Linked DNA regions of Homo sapiens: regions 1, 3, 4 and 5 are each linked to region 2. The links are contacts of gene promoters, found by promoter capture Hi-C in blood cells and fetal thymus (Javierre and others, 2016). All regions are on one chromosome and are shown on one strand. The core of a region is centred on a gene start or on the middle of the fragment in contact, and the rest is flanking DNA. Distances in the headings are between cores, read along the strand shown. Region 1 has its middle 5.1 kb from the start of TAAR9. Region 2 holds the start of VNN1 (vanin 1). Region 3 has its middle 11 kb from the start of STX7. Region 4 overlaps STX7 (syntaxin 7). Region 5 overlaps STX7 (syntaxin 7).

Region 1 (2,700 bases), core at 75-2,574, 170 kb after region 2:
ATGGCTCTACAGTGGGTCTAAGCTATAGAATAACTGTCACAATTTGACGACCTTGCAGTGATGAAGGTATTAGTAGTGGAAAAAGAGGCAGTGTATTTTTTATGGGAGGCTCCACTGAGAGAAACACAGTGCAGTCCTCTGGGAGTCTAGAGTAAGGAAGATAAATACCTTTTGAAAGATAGCTCTTGGTGAGCTACTGAGCCCAGGAAGTGATGGAACGCTTGACCATGTGACATCAAGCTATCATGTGTCTGTAACTGCCTATTATGAGTTAGGTCTTGTTGGATCCTCCAATGGAAATGATGCATGTAGGACCAAACACAAGCAAGGCCAGTGGGAACATGTGAGCAACATGAGCCCAGAGCCCATTACCTACCGCCTTTGCAGCAGTACCCCCTCCATTTCACACTTCAGGAAACTAAAGAGGAGAAAAACACAAGCTTGGTTTACAGATGGGCTGTCTCAGTATGTGGGTGGAAGCCAAAAACGGACAGCAGATGCATTATAAACTCCCTTAGCCTTAGATGACAGAAGAGAGGAAAACAAACTCCCTAATAGATGAAGCTTTGGTTTTGCCTAATTGGTCTTAATTGAGCAACACCAGAAAGTTGTCCCATTTAAATAACTCCTCCCTTCCTAAAACTTCACCCTTGTTACTTTCTTCTTTTTACAAACTGTTACTCTTTGAACATCTCTTAAAATTTCTCTTGTACCTTTATCCACTACCAACCTAAAAGGGAACCCCTCTGAGAATGGTATGTTTTATTGTTAATGCTCCCATATGAAGAATTTAATTCATTTGGCAAGTAGTTATTGTTTAACAGCTCATATTACTGATGGGAAAGGACGCAGCACAAACAGCTTGAACACAGCCTGAAATGTCAGAGTGTTCCTAGGTGAGGGGAGAAAGTAGAGACAGGGTAGCTGGGGGACTCCCCAGGGAATTTTGCCTGTTTTATAAATTTAACAAGGATGAATTAGTACAGGGACCTTATATATTCTTATCTTTGAAGTGATCTGTGATGCTTAGCTTAGTATTGCCCTTAGGAAATAATGAAACTTGCCCTTTGGCATTAGACGTGTGTGTGTGTGTGTGTGTGTGTGTGTGTGTGTTTGAACAGAATAAAATAAGAATAAAATATAAATGTCAGCTCTTATGTTACACCTGGGAAGATAGTCTATAATTTTTCATTTCCAAGAAATGTCGTTGCTTTTTCCAACTGATTCACAATGATAGTATTTGCAAAGCATTGGCTTTGATGATAGACAGACATGGATCTAAATATCCCAGCTCCAGCATTTACAACATATAATCTCTCTGGAGCTTTTTTCTTCATTAATAGTTCCTATAATTAATATTAATAATAAGAAAAGAAAATCAAAATGCTAATTCTAAAAACACACAAAATACAAAGGCAATGCAAGCTGTTTATAAAAATATCATTTTATTTGTGTAGGTGTATGTAATCTTTAAACTGTTTATTTGGATTTTCACTATCTCTAACTCTTAGGAAAGTTTACAGTAATTTCTTCTCTATGAAAAATTTACTTTTGAGCTCATGTTGTGAGTTCAAATCGGTTAAGTGGCTCTTTCAACAGAACTCTGGAGCTCTTCCTGAGCTCTAATTTCTAATAAAAAAAATACTTTTCCAACATTGCTTTTTTGGTTAACAGTCTTGATTGTATGATTTCAGAAAATAAATCTTAAAAATATAAGTTTTGAAACTATTTCAAAAAATCCTTATAAATTTCTTTCTGTTAAAACATTTACAAAACATAACACAAACAATTTTTATGTGATAGTGGTTTCCTTATTGGCTCTTTGGTCTCCAAAATCTGCAGATGTGTTTTACATAATGGTCATTAATACATAAAACCTCAATAAGAAAGTTCCATAATCATATCCATTTTATAGGTAAGCAGCTATGATCTACAAAGCGTAAGTGACTTATCCAAGATTGCAGATGATGGAGATGAGATTTAAACCCAAGTAATGTGGCTTTACAACCTCACTCTGAACCTTTATACTGCATGGTATGCAGTCTTTGCAGGAAAAAGAAGGTGTATGTTTTCAAAAAGCTTAACATTTACAATCCTCACAGTAAATCTCTGAGATATCATATACTTCATGAATCTCCACTTTAGGTTAGGTAAAGTAAGGAAACTCAATATTGCAAGTTTACAGGCTTTAGCACTTTTTCTCATTAAATAAAAAATTACCTTTTAGTGATTGGGGTAAACAAACCTTTTCAATAGACTAAAGTTGGACTTTTCCTAAACATTGATTATTAAGCATTTTCTATTTTAGCAAACCAAATAAAGGAGAGAATGGCCAAGTTTTTAAATATAAAAGATTAATCGATCATTATTTGATGGGTAGAAATATAAAAGAATTGATTGTTCTTGCTTAAAAAATATCTCTAGGAACTTAATAAGTGTAAGGCACTGTGCTAGGTATTGAAATAATGTAAACAAAGACTTAGCAGCAAATGAAAAGTACATAACAAATTAATATAGTCAGTAAACATCAAATTACTTGATTCATAAAGTATAGGAATATGTCTGTCTACAGGCAGAAAATAATCTAAAAACTATTGCTGATGTACTGTAACAGACTTAGTATTTAGGTATAGTAAACAGAATACATTTTGTGTGTCAAAGGGCATATCTGTTGCTTTTAATGCTCACTTCAAAATAATT
Region 2 (2,700 bases), core at 111-2,610:
TGGAGCTCGGAAGTGAATCCTCCTGGAGTCAAGCCTTGATATAGCTAGCCCTGGCAGCTGCTTGACTGCAGCCTTGTGAAAGAGACCTTGGGCCAGAGGCACCAGCTAAACTGCCCCTGGATTCCTGACCCAGAGAAAGTGGGAGATGATGTATTTTTGCTTTTTGAAGCTGCTGAATTTGGGGATAATTTGTTATATAGCAATAGAAAATGAGTAACTCTTTTGTATTCCTCTTTGTCCTGGCTTCCCCATTTTGAGGAAAATAAAGTAAATCAAAGTGTAGAGCTGAAATATTCACATGAAAATAATAATAAAGTTTTAAAATTATTTGAATGTCTTGTGTTGACATTCCAAAATATATGAATTCCAAAAATTTATATGTTGAAGTCCTAACTGTCAGTATCTTAGAATGTAACTTTTTTGGAAAAGGGGTCATTTCAGATCTAATTAGTTAAGATGAAGTTATACTGGAGTACAGTGGGCACTAAATCGAATTGGTCCTATGATTGAGTCTCAGTCTTTCAGTGAGCCTGTACCCCTGGGTTTATGACCTTCAGTTGGCTTTTTTCTTCTGCCCTTATTTGGCATAAAAACAAAGCAGGTGGATCACCTGAGGTCAGCAATTTGAGACCAGCCTGCCCAACACGGCGAAACCCTATCTCTACTAAAAATACAAAAAATTAGCCTGGCGTGGTGGCGGGCGCCTGTAATCCCAGCTACTTGGGAGGCTGAGGCAGGAGAATCACATGAACCCGAGAGGCGGAGGTTGCAGTGAGCCGAGATTTCGCCACTGCACTCTAGCCTGGGTGACAAGAGTGAAACTCCATCTCAAACAACAACAACAATAAACAAACAACAACGATGACAAAAAAAGCTAGAGCTGGGATTTTCCCTTTCCCTGTGTTAAAGATTAGAGTGGTGTCCTCACAAAAAGGGAAAACTTGGATACAGGCACACACATGGGGAGAATAGCATATGAAGAGACACAGGGAGAAGGCAGCCATCTATGGGTCAAGGAGAGAGGCCTGGAACACATCTTTCCTTCACCGCCCTCAGGAGGAACCAACTCTGCTGACACCTTCATCTGGGACTCCCACCCTCCAGAACTGCAAAGCAATAAATTTTTTATTTTTTACACCACCCAGTTTATTGTATTTTGTTAGGCAGCCCTAGCGAACTAATGTACATAGAGTTCTTGAGTTAATCTTCACAAATTACTGCAATAAGGTAGGGTCTTTTGTTATGTAACAATGCTATGAAATCATAGCGTTTTCTTAATTAACTTCCGTAGTTTAAGGTACTAAGTTCTGGACACCACGTGTCTTCTTTCTATAAATACCAGGACATGCTCTGTTTTTCAGCACTCATTGGACTTCAGCATGACTACTCAGTTGCCAGCTTACGTGGCAATTTTGCTTTTCTATGTCTCAAGAGCCAGCTGCCAGGACACTTTCACTGCAGCTGTTTATGAGCATGCAGCGATATTGCCCAATGCCACCCTAACACCAGTGTCTCGTGAGGAGGCTTTGGCATTAATGAATCGGAATCTGGACATTTTGGAAGGAGCGATCACATCAGCAGCAGATCAGGTACCATCTCTACCATCTCTCCAGTGTACTGGATTCTATGAGAAAGGAGGGGGTCCTAGGAGACAGGGCCACTGTCAGGGTCAGTTACACTTTTAGATGATATATGTATCAGAGTAGCCAAGAACCTTTATTTTACAGTTAGAATTCTACTTTCCTCTCAAAATTAGAGCAAGGACTTCCCTAAAAGTAAGAACAAAGTTAAGAAAAGAACAATTTGCTCATTATCAAGAAGCAGCAGACCTTTGAGGAACTGGCCATAAATTCAACATCTTTGTTCCCCTTTTCTGGTACAGATGGAGGATGGAGGATAAATGGGTCAGGGACTAGGTGCTATTTTCAGAGTATTAGTGGCCTTCATGTACTCATGTGCTATTAAGGCTTTGCAGGTTTTCGAATAAATTTATAATCTGAAAACAAATTTAAGTTTTCAATTCCTTGCCAGCATGCATTATATACTTCACACTTCATTCTAATTACAAGATAAAAGTATATGTAATGCATTGTGAGTCCTTAAGTTTAGTGAAGGTTTCAGTTTGAAGTTAATCATACAGTATAAATTGTGGTTTACACAAATATTATTTTAAAAGCTATTGATCGATTAGGTGTAGACCAGGAATACATGAAGTGTGATAAAAGTCATGGATAAATGTGTATTACATATATCTATAAATATATATTCTTTTGTGTTGTTGAGTTAAGGTCTCACTCTGTCACCCAGGATGGAGTATAGTGGTGTGATCACGTCTCACTGCAGCCTTGACTTCCCGGGCTCAGGTGATTCTCCCACTACAGTCTCCAGAGTAGCTGGGACCACAGATGCATGCCACCGTGCCCAGCTAAGTTTTGTATTTTTTGTAGAGATGGGATTTTGCCATGTTGCCCACGCTGTACTTGAACTCCTGACCTCAGGTGATCCACCTGCCTTGGGCTCCCAAAGTGCTGGGATTACAGGCATGAGCTACCGTGACTGCCCTATATTCTTATATATACTAATATTTAAAAGGTTATCAGGAGTTCTGATGTTCTTTTTCATCCTTAGTCCAACTATTTCCTTGAAGGTCACAGAGCTTTTTAAGGTGACTCTCTAATTGGAAGGTGCCCAGGTTAGCTC
Region 3 (2,700 bases), core at 73-2,572, 190 kb after region 2:
AAATGAAACAAAGGGGTAGAACACAAAAATCCCTGCAAATTTCCAAAAGCCAAATTTTACACCCCCTGCAATTATGCCATTTACTACCAGTTTCTTTCTGACTGAGTCAGATGTGAGAGACCTCTAACTGGATCCAAGCCAGTTAATTACGGGATCCATTCTGATCTTGGACCCAGTCCAGTGTCTGTCGCGACTTCCAAATCCAGCTTGGATCAGAAATTTGCTCAAAGAAACTCAGAGTGTTCAAAACACAAATCTGTGGAGCCTCAGAATCCGAGCGAGAACTTAACCATATTCTCTAGCTGCTCTGAGAGAGCAACAGACACAATGGGTCCAGCGGGTACCTCCCTTGGTCACGCAGTGCTCATGGGGGTCGTTAGAAGCTCTACTTTAGATCCAATTTCTGATGCCATCTGATAAAAGAAAAACTTCAGCCAAATTAAATTTAAAGGAATTTGATTGAGCCAAGAAGATTCATGAACTGGGCAGCCTCCCAAACTAGAGTAAATTCTGAGACTCCAGTGCAGCCACATAGAGGAAGAAGATTTATGGACAGAAAAAAGGAAAGTGACATACAGAAGATAGGAGTAAGCACAAAAACAGCTGGATTGGTGACAGCCCCGCATTTGCCTTAACTGAACACGGTTCAAACAGTTGGCTACATTTGGCCAAAACTCAGTGATTGGTACAAGTGTAGGCTATGATCTGTACCTCCACTTGTTTGTAGTTCACGATGTACGGAGAAACCTTTAGGCTGAACTTAAAATACATAAGGAGGCAGCTTTAGGCTAAACTTGTTGTAACACTTTGCTCTTGCTACTGTAGGATTACTGTAAAACCTTAGTAAGTAAAGTTTTGCCTTAGGCTCTATTTTTCAAGACACTTGGACTAAGACTTCTGTGAATTGTCTATTATGAGCTTTTACTAAGTTTTCTAGTGTGGTGTCTTGGTTTGGTTTCTCTAGAAGCAGAAACTTGGGCTCAGAATGGAGAATTTGGAAAGAATTCTCACAGGAGAAGGGCAGTAAGAGAAGTTGGTTCCACAGCATGTTCTGAGAAAGACTGTGGTCTTGGCTGGAGACTTTTGGTTGGATCCCACAGGGAAGCTCTGGAGCACAAGTTGCACCACAGAATTAATTCCAACGTAAGTCCAGGGACTGATGTCAATTTGTCATTGGTTGAGGTTGGGGGGAGTCAGCGCATATTGACTCTGGGTGGGGCAGCTCCCTTGGGCCAAGGGCAATTTTCTAGAGTAGAAGGTAGCTGTGATTGGTGCTTAGCTGATTACTCACAGCAACTATGGATTGGTTACTGAGGCAGTCAAAGAGAACCTGGCTGAGGTGTCAATAACATCTACCACAGGAGGTTTGTCTATCTTATACTTTATAACAGGATGTAAAACATTTGTATTAGAGCTTGCAGGCATTTTCTCTTCATTTGTCATTCTCTTTCACTTTGTTTATGATTTTAATAAGACATTGTAAATGTTTGTGCCATAAATACAAATCATCTTCTTTAAGGTTCTTGCTTTTCTTGCCCTTTTCACTCAAAGTAGAAAAACAATTATTTGGATAGAAGGAATATGATACAGGTCATAGACCTGGCTCTACACAAAGAACTGAAGAGATTTAGAAATGGAATATGTAAAGGTAAAATAAAATTTTTTTCTCTTATTTTAAGTTACTCTAAAAGATGAATGACTTTGAGAGTATAACAATACTCTACATACATACAAAACCATACAATATTGTTTTCTGTATAACAATAGCAGAAGAAATGAGAAGAAGGATTTGGGAATATACTGTTATAATGTCCTTGCAAATACCTCATTTGAAAGTAGATTTAGGTTAATTTTTTAAAGAGGTAAAAATAATTTTTAGGAGGAATACACATAATAAGTCAATAGAGAAGATAAAATAGAATCATTTAAAAATTCCTGATAAAACCCAGGAAAGAAAGAAAAAGAGGAAAAATAAAAATAGAACAGACAACAGCTAGAGAGATGGTAGATTTTAATTCAAATTGTCAATAACCTTAAATTTAAATGATCTATACATACTAGTTGAAAGACAAAGAATTTAAAACAGAATAAAAAAACAAGACACAACTCTGCTGTCTACAAAATACTCACTTGTAATGTAAAGGCATGGATAGGACAAACATAAAAAGATGAAGATAGATCATATCAAACTGAATCAAATGAAATCTGAAGTAGCTACAATAACTTCAAACAAAATAGATGTCAAGATAAGGATTATTATTAGAGATAAAGAGGGGTACTATATAATAATAAAGGGGTCAATTCATCAGGAAGACATAACAATCCTAAAAGTGTTTACATATAACAACAGAACTTCAAAACACATAGGGAAAATCCTGAAAGATATGAAAGAAAAAGTAGAGAAATTTACAGTTCTAGTTGGAGACTTCAACCCTCCTCTCTTAGTAATTGATGAAATAAGTAGGGAGAATATCAGCAAAATCCCCCAAACACTACCAACTAACTTGAACTAATTTACACTTATAAAATATTCCACCCAACAGCAATATTACTCTTTCTTTTGTAGTGTACATGAAATACTCATTGATCATATTCTGGGCCAGCAAACAAAACTTAACAAATTTAAAAGAATATAAATCATACAAAGTATGTTTTCTGACCATAAAAATATACCAAATATTAATAAAATAAAATTATCTT
Region 4 (2,700 bases), core at 55-2,554, 240 kb after region 2:
TCCATTTCTACTCAATTCTTTAATTGGCTGAGTAATTTTATATAGCATTCATGTGGTGTACTTGTTTGTACTTTGCAAAATTGATATGCATTTCGGTCCTTTTTTTGCTATTCAGTTTATTCATGAATATTAAAGTTCCTATTCTTGGCCCATTTTTCTTTTTTTTTATTATACTTTAAGTTCTGGGATACATGTACAGAACGTGCATGTTTGTTATATAGATATACACGTGTCTTGGCCCATTTTTCTACTGGATTGTCTGACATTTTCTAAATTATTTATAGTTATTGACTATTGCTCCCTCTTTCTTATATATTATGTAGTCTTTACCTTTTGTTTTTAAGGCCTTTGATTGTAATTATATTCTCAACTGCTTTTCATAATTTTTACCAATCAGAAACATAAAAGTTTAATTATCAGTGAAGTTGAAGTTTTGTTATGTACACATTTGCCTTTTGTAAATTGCAAGATTATAACCTTTGTCCATTTTTTACTGGGCTGTTGTTCTGTTACCAAAAATAATTACCATTGTAGTTTAACCTCTTTCCTCATCATAACCTGCAGTTACTGTCTCCTGTGTGTATATGAACACACACTTACATATATACTTGTGATATATGTACACATTTTTTGTATAACATTTAACCAAGTTATTTTATGTAGTCAAATTTGTCAATATTTTCCTCTGTGGATTTTAGTTTTGTGTCATGCTTAGCTAATATTTTATATCTCTTACTCCAAGATCATGTATAAGATCATATAATAAAAACATTTATATTTCTTAGAGCAGTTTAATATTTTCAATTTTACTATTTAAATTAATGGTTTATTAAAAATGTATTTTGCTATATGCTGGGAGGTAGGGTTCTTTCTCCCCTGCCCAAATGGTTAGTCAGTTTTCCTGGTGTCATTTATTAAATAATTTATTTTTTCTCACTTGCTATGATTTTTTCCTAAAGAACAATAACACTTTAGAGTTGAGATAAATACCTGCCAATAGTCTATCGATGCCCATACTACAGTTTGTATTATCAATACGCTTAAGAAAATAAAGCCCCTATAAGGCAGTTCAAGAAAATCTGTTGAGGTTGAGAGGGAATATATAGCTAATTATAAGCAGCCATAAGTTAAACACGGCAAACAAAATTTGTTTGTCTTATGAAAGGAAAAATCAACCCCCAAAAAGCAAAAATAAATTCCTATTAAATTAGCCAAATGCTAAGAGTTGCTATATGCTTTGATTCTTCTCTAGTGTTTCTGTTTTTCAGCTTTCACTTAAAAGCAGTATTTATTACATCATTCGCGGTGACCAAAATTATCCTGCATTTTGTAATACTTTATCATTCCCTTGAGCATGTAAATAATGAATAGTTTTAAAGCATTTAAGCTATATAAGTAAACCACTCATTTAAATAAAAAGAATGAGGGGGTTAGATTGTTAAGAGTTCTTTGGATTTTCAGCTTATTTCTACTTGACGTTTTATTTATGTACCATGACATTTTATTTATGTCCCCACATACATAAAACTGTAGGTCCTCCCCTTTTGTGTAGAGCCTTTTTTAAAAAAATTGCAATAGTCATAGACTTCCGGATTGTGAGTTTAACATGACTTTTAAGCCCTGGACTTTTTATTTTAAAATCTTTTCTAAACCTCACAAAATATATATATAAGTATATAGTACAATGAACCTTTCACCTGGATTTGCCAGTTGTGGGCATTTTTCAACTTTTGTTTAATGTGTTTTTTACTTTCTGTATTCAAATTTCTCCAGTTGTCCCTATGATTTTCTTTATAGTGCTTGCTTTTTTCCTGATTCAGAATCCAGTCAAAAATCATACAGTGTCTTTTGGGTATTTTAATTCCTTAATTTAGAAAGCACCTCTGTCTTTGTCAACTTTTTTTTTCCCTTTTGTGACATTGACGTCTTTAAATGCCCAGGCAAGTTATCTCGTAGATTGTCCCACAGTCTAGACTGGTCTAATTTCTTTTTGTGATTAGATTCATGTTAAATATTTTGGCAAGAAAAATCCTCAGATCATATTGTGGCTTTCTCGCTGCAGCATGCCACAAGGTTCATAATGTCAGTTTTTTCCATTCTCACTGCTAAATTTGGTCATTTGTTTTCAGACAACAGATTTATATATGATAAAGTTATATCTTTTGTAATTAATGTCATCTGTGTGGTGGTAATTTAAGTTGTATGAATGTCCTGTGATTTTAGCATTTTTTGATGACCTTGCTGAAATCAGTTATTACATGGATAATTGAAAAATGATTTTTTGTAATTCTATTCCTCTCATTTATTAACAATAACTTATTTATATTATATTCTAATGAAATATGTAATTGTTACTTATTTCCTCACAATTTTTATGCTAGTAGTGTTAAAGTCTGTGTGCCCTTGTATTTACTTAATAATATCCTGATGGGATAAGGAAGAAGATAGTATTTTTGGGTCATAAGTGCATTTTCACAAGTTAACATTCTCACACAATTTCCTCTTGAAAATTTTTGTTACTAATTAGATTTAAGTAAACCATTTAGTTATTCTTTTTTCCAGTTAATATTTTCTATTTTCATCTTTGTTTTTCTGTCTCTTTTCAACTGCCCAATTGCTTGTACATATTAATTTTTAACTCTTTCTGTTACCTTAACTTTTGTGACAATTAATACATGAATTTTCTATTATAATAGCTGT
Region 5 (2,700 bases), core at 57-2,556, 210 kb after region 2:
CCTCCTGAGTAGCTGGCACTACAGGCGCATGCCACCACACCCAGTTAATTTTTTTAGTAGAGATGAGATTTCACCATGTTGGCCAGGATGGTCTCAATCTCTTGACCTTGTCATCTGCCTGTCTTGGCCTTCCAAAGTTCCGGGATTACAGGCGTGAGCCACCGCGCCCAGCCCAAATTTGGTTTTTCTAACTGAGTTCACCTGCCCTCAATTTTGTTATACAAGGAAGCAGTATGGCTTAGTGTTTAAAAAATGTCGGCTCTGTGGTTATTTTCAAATATTTGCTCCTTTGCTTATAATGATAATGAGGCATAATGATATGCCTCAGTTTCTTCATGTAAAAAAATCACATTAGCAATTATACCCACATGATAGGCTTATAAGAATTAACTGAGAAAATAAATTTAAAAGTCATAAGCACAATGCTTAGGAAATGTAAGTCCTGGATGAGTGTTGGCCATTGTTAACTTTGTTTTATTTTACACATCTTTCTTCTCTATCTTTTGCAAATTGCTTTTCATTCTTCACACATGATTCCTGGCTAGATACAGTGGCTCAAACCTGTAATCCCAGCACTTTGGGAGGCTGAGACTGGAGGATCGCATGAGCCCAGGAGTTCAAGACCAGTCTGGGCAACAAAGTGAGACCCCCATCTCTATAAAAAAATCAAAAAATTAGTGGGATGTGGTGGCAGGTGCCTGTGGACCCAGCTACTCGGGATGCTGAGATGGGAGGATTGCCTGAGCCTGGAAGTCAGGGCTGCAGTGAGTCGTAATCACACCACTGCACTCCAGCCTGGGTGCTCCTGTCTCAAACAACAACAACGCCAAACAAAGAAAAAGTAAAACAAAACTCATAATTCCAGTCAATCTAAGTAGCACCTCTTTGGGTGAATGAAGCCACTTGCCAATTGTCTCACCAGCAGGAACTTTCTCACATTTAGTAGCTTGAGGAAAGGGATGAAGAAAATTGATTGTGTTTGTGACTAAGTGATTGATTTTCCAGAGAGGAAAAAAGGTGGCCTTGAAAGAAAACAGTGAGAAGACTTGGGCTACACTGGTGTGAGTTTTAAGGGTAAGGAAAATGCTGTAGAATACTGTCCTTGACTTGATGGAACTCTTTATGGGAGAGAGAGTAGGCCTCAGGTGTGCTTGCATGGTTTTGAGACAGGTGATGAGTTTCTCTTGGTCTTGTGCTGATGCTGGTCCTGCAGCTGCAAGAACAGATCATAACTTTCCTCTGTGTAGGGTGGAAAAGCATTTGTTCTCTGGATGTGCATTATCTCATTTTGATTCTGGCAGTGGGCCCAAATGCTAAGTGTCTTGCCCAAAGTAGAAATTTCCAGTTGCTACTTCCATGGTGTGCCGCACAGGCAATGGCTGAGTTCTTGTAGCTTCACAGACATGTAGACACGAGAGAAAGCCAAGGGTACGAGCTGGAGACATGGATGTGCGACTCATTCAGGTATAGATTAAAATGGAACCATGTATATGGAGGAGCATCCCCAGAGATTACATGAATAACAAACTGAACATTTTTTCATTCAATGTGTTTGTTTTGGCTTGTAAGCCAGTTTTTCCAGAGATCTACTTGATAGAGGGAAAGGAGAAAGGAAGATGTCATTGAACCAAGAGAAAATTGTCTTTCTCCATACCTTGGAATATTATTTGGCAATAATGAAGGAATATTATTTGGCAATAATGAAGGAATGAAGGACTGATATATGATACAGCACAGATGGACTTTGGAAGCATACTAAGAGAAAGAAGCTAGTCTCGAAGAACACATTGTATGATTCCATTCCTATGAAATGTCCAGAATAGCAAAGCTATAAAGATACAAAGTAGATTAGTAGTCACCTTTGGCCAGTGAGGTTGGGGAGAAATGGAGAGCGATTGCTAATGATTACAAACTTTCCTTTTAGCGTAATAGAAATGTTCTAAAAGTGATGATTGTACAATGTTGTAAATATATTAAAAACCATTGGCTTGTGTACTTCAAGTAGGTGTATTGTATTGCCATATCTCAATAAATTATATCTCAATAAAGCCATTTTATTTATATAAATTTAAGGGGTGCACATGCAGTTTTGTTACATGGTTATATTGCATAGCGTGAAGTCTGGGCTTTTAGTGTAATCATCACCTGAATAATGTACATTGTACGCATTAAGTAATTTCTCATCCCTCACCCTCCCATCCTTTTGAGTCTCCAATGTCTTCTTATTCCACTCTCTGTCCATGTGTACACATTATTTAGGTTCCACTTACAAGTGAGAACATGCAGCATTTGACTTTTTTCTGAGTCATTTCACTTAAGATAATGGCCTCCAGTTCATCTGTGTTGCTGTGAAAGACATAACTTCAGTCTTTTTTAAGGTTGAATAGTATTCCATTGCATTTATATACACTACATTTTCTTTATCCATTCAGGAATGTTAATAGACACTTGATGGGCACTTAGGTTAATTCCAAATCTTTGTTCTTGTGAATATTGCTACAATAGACATATGAGTGCAGATTATCTTTTTGGTATAATGGTTTTTTTTTTCTTTTGGGTAGATACCCAGTAACGAGGTTACTGGATCAAATATTAATTCTATTTTTAGTTCTTTGATGACTTGCCATGCTGTTTTCTGTAGAGGTTGTACTACTTTACAGTCTCACCAACAGTGTGTGTGTTCCTGTTTCTCTGCATTCT

What was found. Contacts are between HindIII fragments. The CHiCAGO score rates a contact against its expected background, and 5 or more counts as called.
Region 1: a fragment that was not itself captured here is called in contact with the fragment with the promoter of VNN1 in region 2 in 1 of 17 cell types (neutrophils); the score reaches 5.1 in neutrophils.
Region 3: a fragment that was not itself captured here is called in contact with the fragment with the promoter of VNN1 in region 2 in 1 of 17 cell types (neutrophils); the score reaches 5.1 in neutrophils.
Region 4: a contact is called between a fragment that was not itself captured here and the fragment with the promoter of VNN1 in region 2, in 1 of 17 cell types (neutrophils). The highest score is 5.0, in neutrophils.
Region 5: a fragment that was not itself captured here is called in contact with the fragment with the promoter of VNN1 in region 2 in 1 of 17 cell types (neutrophils); the score reaches 6.9 in neutrophils.

What each region holds. Positions count from the first base shown.
Region 1 is chr6:132,542,015-132,544,714 of GRCh38, reverse strand. No RefSeq gene overlaps it. Among named protein-coding and RNA genes, the nearest start is that of TAAR9, 5.1 kb to the right of the region's middle. The HindIII fragment of the contact is 1,515 bases long and covers 567-2,081 here.
Region 2 is chr6:132,712,715-132,715,414 of GRCh38, reverse strand. VNN1 (vanin 1) reads left to right here and starts at 1,360. Exons shown (of 7, transcript NM_004666.3): 1 at 1,360-1,589. The coding sequence starts at 1,380. The HindIII fragment of the contact is 10,237 bases long and covers 1-2,700 here.
Region 3 is chr6:132,522,670-132,525,369 of GRCh38, reverse strand. No RefSeq gene overlaps it. Among named protein-coding and RNA genes, the nearest start is that of STX7, 11 kb to the right of the region's middle. The HindIII fragment of the contact is 3,210 bases long and covers 1-2,700 here.
Region 4 is chr6:132,475,659-132,478,358 of GRCh38, reverse strand. It overlaps STX7 (syntaxin 7), which reads left to right. Exons shown (of 10, transcript NM_003569.3): 3 at 2,697-2,700. Among named protein-coding and RNA genes, the nearest start is that of STX7, 36 kb to the left of the region's middle. The HindIII fragment of the contact is 3,236 bases long and covers 1-2,700 here.
Region 5 is chr6:132,506,651-132,509,350 of GRCh38, reverse strand. All of the region lies in intron 1 of STX7 (syntaxin 7), which reads left to right. Among named protein-coding and RNA genes, the nearest start is that of STX7, 5.1 kb to the left of the region's middle. The HindIII fragment of the contact is 3,553 bases long and covers 1-2,700 here.